Regions from separate parts of the Homo sapiens genome. Here region 2 is linked to region 1. The links are contacts of gene promoters, found by promoter capture Hi-C in blood cells and fetal thymus (Javierre and others, 2016). All regions are on one chromosome and are shown on one strand. The core of a region is centred on a gene start or on the middle of the fragment in contact, and the rest is flanking DNA. Distances in the headings are between cores, read along the strand shown. Region 1 holds the start of PCLAF (PCNA clamp associated factor). Region 2 overlaps ZNF609 (zinc finger protein 609).

Region 1 (2,700 bases), core at 122-2,621:
GTAGAGACTGGGTTTCACCATGTTGCCCACGCTGGTCTCGAACTCCTGAGCTCAGGCAATCTGCCTGCCTCGGCCTCCCAAAGTGCTAGGATTACAGGTGTGAGCCACCATGCCTGACCGATTCTGTTTTATGTATGGTATTTAGAGAGTGAAAATCACTCCCCAGGGGTGTTGTGAGTAATTAGAAGGTAAGCATAAAGATAGAAAAAAATTATGACCCTTTATCCTAGAGTTATGCTCACTGTGTGACAGCGATGTGGTCTTACCACATTTGGCAGGGTCTTTTCGTTTCGTTTCGTTTCATTTCATTTCCTTGCCTTGCCTTGCCTTTCTTTTCTTTTTTCTTTTCTTTTCTTTCTTTCTTTTCTTTTCTTTCTTTCTTTCTTTTTTTTTTTTGAGACAGGATCTCGCTCTGTCGCCCAGGCTGGAGTGCATGGTGTGATTATGGCTCACTGCAACCTCTCCCTCCTAGGCACAAGCAATCTCCCGTCTCCTGAACTCAAGCCATCCTCCCACCTCAGCCTCCCGAGTAGTTGGGATTACAGGAACATGCCACTGCACCCGGCTAATTTTTGTATATTTTTTGTAGAGACGGGTTTCACCGTGTTGGTCAGGCTGGTCTCGACCTCCTGGGGTCAAGCGATCTGCCCGCCTCGGCCTCTCAAAGTGCTGGGATTACAGCCATGAGTCCCCGCTCCTGGCAGATTTGGCAGATTATTTAGGAGCTCTGACACCATTCGGTTCTCAAGAAGACGTTTTATTAGTTTCTTTTTATGTGTGTATGTATATACAATCCCCCTAGTTTTTGTTTAGTCTCACATCATCCTAAAGACATTTAAAAAAACCCTTGTAAACAAGTTGTATTAGCTTCCTTTTCCCCATTCCATAGAATTGTTTTAGTATGGATGCTGTACAAAGAGTTCATGCCTGGGGGACTAAAGGAAAGTTCTCAAGTTCTTTTAATTTTGATTTGCATCAAAAAGTCCGCTTAATTTCAGGTTTCACCTCCAGGAGTCAATCATTATGGACTTAAAGCTATAGTAACTTTTGAAGATCGTTTGTAATTCGCTGTCTTTGCTAGGTTTTCTTTTCTAAGCAGGCTCATTTCTGTAGTTCAGAAACTTAGCACCCACTAGTCGGGTACCCCTGGAGAGTCCTGGTACCGCCCACCTGGGGCGCCTACGAATCCTAGGCCTTTGCGTGTTGATGGACGGATTCGCGCTGCAAGAAGCCTCGCCGCTGTCACCACTGGGCATTGGCAATTGGTTCAGGGGGAACGGCGCGGAACCAATGGGAGCGGTGGCTCGGGAGAGACCTTGGAGCGCGCGGGAAAGAGACCAATATAAACTGTGGCGGGATAGTTTTCGGGTCCTTGTCCAGTGAAACACCCTCGGCTGGGAAGTCAGTTCGTTCTCTCCTCTCCTCTCTTCTTGTTTGAACATGGTGCGGACTAAAGCAGACAGTGTTCCAGGCACTTACAGAAAAGGTGAGGCGATCGAGTGTGGTACTGGAGGGCGGGGGGGTCCTCCCGGCAGCCTGGCCACGGGCGACAGACGCCAGAGGTCCCCCTGGGCCCTGTGCGCCAAACTCATCTAGCTAGCCAGGGAGTAGCCGCCTGGCCCCTTTACCTAGAAGAGGAAGTCGCAGGGGCAGGGTAAGGTTATCCTGCTGTTCTGGATCGCCAGGCTCTCCTCTCCAAGCTGCTGGGGTCCAGGACTCGGTGTCGGAACCCTCCTGCCCCTTCTGAACACCCTTTTTTGCCTCTCTTCACAGTGGTGGCTGCTCGAGCCCCCAGAAAGGTGCTTGGTTCTTCCACCTCTGCCACTAATTCGACATCAGTTTCATCGAGGAAAGGTAAGAAGAGCCCTCCTAAAGTTAGGGGATCAGTCCTGGCACCTGCAAGCCCCTGGCTTGCCATGAATTTCTTTTTCTTGAGGTACTCACGCCCGAATTTCTTCCTTGCCCTGTGATATAATAAGAGAGGCTGGGCCTTTTGGCCGGCTAGGGTAGAGGTGGGGGGGAGGTCTCATGGAAGGGAATTTCAAGCCTTGGAGTTAAGGACCGACACACCTTATCTTCAAGCCTATTTTTCTTTTCTTTTCTTTTTTTAGACAGGGCCTCTCTTTGTTGCTCAGGTTGGAGTGCAGTGGTGCAATCACTGGTCACTACATCCTCCACTTATGGGGCTTAAGCAATCCTCCCACCTCAGCCTCCAAAGTAGCTGGGGCTACAGGTACATGCCACCACGCCGGGCTTTTTTTTCTATTTTTTGTAGAGATGGGGGTCTCACTATGTTGCCTAAGCTGGTCTCAAACTCCTGGGCTCAAACAATCCTCCTACTGGGATTACAGGCATGAGCCACCACAGCCAGCCTATCAATTTTTGTTTTTTGGTTTAGTATTTTCCTTTTTCTTTCTCTTTCTTTTTTTGAGACAGAGTCTTGCACTGTTGCCCAGGCTGCAGTGCAACGGTGTGATCTTGGTTCACTGCAACCTCCGCCTCTCGGGTTCACACGATTCTCCTGCCTCTGCCTCCTGAGTAGCTGGGATTACAGGTGCACGCCACCACACCCAGCTAATTTTTTTGTATTTTTAGTAGAGATGGGGTTTCACTATGTTGGCCAGACTGATCTCAAACTCCTGACCTCATGATCTGCCTGCCTCAGCTTCCCAAAGTGATGGGAACACAGACGTGATCCAC
Region 2 (2,700 bases), core at 128-2,627, 270 kb before region 1:
GTTATTGATTTTACGTTTGACCTATTTCTACCAGAAAAGAAACAGATGCAGCAATAAAGCTACATACTGGTGGCAAAGTGAAAGACACACAGAACAGGTGGAAGAAGCAAAAAGAAAATGTCCAAGTAGGCAAAATGCAGCAAGAGGATAAAAAGAGAAAAGGGAGTTTGGACAAAAACCGAAAAGTCCAAAGCTGCAAGGTTATTATTATGAAACACATAATGTGTCTCCTTGGTATGTGAGGTACTTTATTGATGATGTAAAAAATGAAGCTCAGCTCTTGAAGAGCTAGAAAATTTAAGAAGTATCTTTTTTTAAACCATATAAAAGATATAATGACTAAGTCCATTATGATACATCCTTAACATGGAATACTCTGTAGTTATTTAAAATGTTATAGAAGGTCATTTAATGTTATGGAAATATGTTACAGGAATATATTTCTCTAAACAAAGAAGATTACGAAATATATAGAGAAGGGTCTCAATTTGTTAAAAATATAAAATAAAAGAAGCAACAAAAATATATAATATAAAAATTCAAACATTGGTTATCTCTGGGTAATTTATTCTTTTCCTCTTGGTGAATTTTGACTTTGTCTCCTAAATGTTCAACAATAAAAATTGTTACTTTTTCCTTTTGAACCATCACAATATCTAAAACTTTTTCATCACCTGAAATAGAAACTTTGTAGCCATTAAGCAATAATTCTCCATTCCCTATGCTCCCCACGGCCCTTAATATTCTTTCTGTCTATATAAATGTATCCATTCTAGATACCTAAGTGGAAAAAATACAATATTTGTCCTTTCGTGACTGGCTTATTTCACTTAACATGTATTTTCAAGGTTCATCCACATTGTAGAATCAGAACTTCATTTTTTTTTTTTTGGAGACAGGGTCTCACTCTGTCCCCCAGGCTGGATGGCAGTGGTGTGATCACAGCTCAAGCAATCCACCTGCCTCAGCCTCCTGAGTAGCTGGGAGTACTAAGTAAGCCTAACTGACAACATCCTATACAGTGATAATGAGTTTATCACTGCACGTGTTACCATACCAGGTTGATTTTTTTTTTTTTTTTTTTTTTTGAGACAGAGTCTCCCTCTGTCATCCAGGCTGAAGTGCCATGGCATGATCTCGGCTCACTGCAACCTCTGCCTCCCAGGTTCAAGCGATTCTCCTGCCTCAGCCTCCCGAGTAGCTGGTACTACAGGCATGCGCCACCATGCCCAGCTAATTTTTTGTATTTTTAGTAGAGATGGGGTTTCACCATGTTGGCCAGGCTGGTCTCGAACTCCTGACCTCAAGTGATCCGCCCGTCTTGGCCTCCCAAAGTGCTAGGATTACAGGCGTGAGCCACCGTGCCCAGTTTTTTTTTTTTTTTTTTTTTTTTGAGATGGAGTCTTGTTTCCATTGTGCAGGCTGGAGTGCAGTGGCACGATCTTGGCTCACTGCAACCTCTACCTCCCAGGTTCAAGCGATTCTCCTTCCTCAGCCTCCCGTGTAGCTAGGGTTACAGGTGTGTGCCACCAAACTTGGCTAATTTTTTTTGTATTTTTAGTAGAGATGGGGTTTTGCCATGTTGGCTAGGCTGGTCTCGAACTCCTGACCTCTGCTGATCCACCCACCTCGGCCTCCCAAAGTGCTAGGATTACAGACATAAGCCACCATGCCTGGCCGCCATTTTGTATTTTTTTCTAGAGATGCAGTCTTGCTATGTTGCCCAGGCTGGTCTTGAATTCCTGGGCTCAAGTGATCCTCCCATCTCAGCCTCCCAAAGTGCTGGGATTAGAGGCATGAGTCACTGTACCAGCTTTCATTTCTTTTTGTTTGCTGAATAATATTCCATTGTATGGCTATACCACATTGTTTATCCATTCATCTGTTGATGGACACTTGGGTTATTTCTACCTTCTGAATATTGTGAATAATACTGTCATATATTCACATACAAGTTTTTGTGTGAACATCTGTTTTCCATTCTTTTAAGTATATACCTAGGAGTAGAATTGCTGGATCATATGTTAATTCTGTTTAGCTTTTTGAGGATCCACCAAACTGTTTTCCACAATGGCTTGTACTCATTTTATGTTCCAACCAACAGTTCTCAAGGGTTCCAATTTCTCCACATCCTCTTGAACACTTTTTATTTTCCACATTTTTGATAACAACCATCCTAGTAGGTATGAAGTGGTAATTCATCATGGTTTTTATGTTCATTTCTCTTATAATTAATGATTCTGAGCATCTTTTCATGTGATTATTGGTCATTTAGATATCTTCTTTGGCAAAATGTCTATTCAAGTCTTACGCGCATTTTTGAATTAGGTTGTTTGGGTTTTTCATTGTTGATCTGTAGGAGTTCTTTATTCTAGATATTAATCACTTATCAGATACACGATTTGCAAATATTTTCTCTCATTCTATCTTTATTCTCTTGGTAGTATCCTTTGATAAACAAAAGTTATTAGTTTTGATGAAATCCAATTTATCTAATTTTTCTTTTGCTGGCTTGTGCTTTTGGTGTCATAGCTAAAAAATCAGGCATTACTTTTGAAATAATAAAATAATTTCAAAAATTAAAAAAAAAAATCAGAGGAAAAAACAGTTGCTAGTTGTGGGGCAGAAAATGTAGGACGCCGAGTGCAATGGCTCATGCCTGTAATCCCAGCATTTTGGGAGGCTGTGGTAGGCAGATCA

Evidence for each region. The method cuts DNA at HindIII sites, captures the fragments that hold promoters and counts their contacts. A CHiCAGO score of 5 or more calls a contact.
Region 2: a contact is called between a fragment that was not itself captured here and the fragment with the promoter of PCLAF in region 1, in 1 of 17 cell types (total CD4 T cells). The highest score is 5.1, in total CD4 T cells.

What each region holds. Positions count from the first base shown.
Region 1 is chr15:64,380,112-64,382,811 of GRCh38, reverse strand. It overlaps PCLAF (PCNA clamp associated factor), which reads left to right and starts at 1,371. Exons shown (of 4, transcript NM_014736.6): 1 at 1,371-1,486; 2 at 1,774-1,854. The coding sequence starts at 1,441. RefSeq lists an enhancer at 1,200-1,710. The HindIII fragment of the contact is 13,260 bases long and covers 1-2,700 here.
Region 2 is chr15:64,645,328-64,648,027 of GRCh38, reverse strand. All of the region lies in intron 3 of ZNF609 (zinc finger protein 609), which reads right to left. Among named protein-coding and RNA genes, the nearest start is that of OAZ2, 57 kb to the left of the region's middle. The HindIII fragment of the contact is 5,059 bases long and covers 1-2,700 here.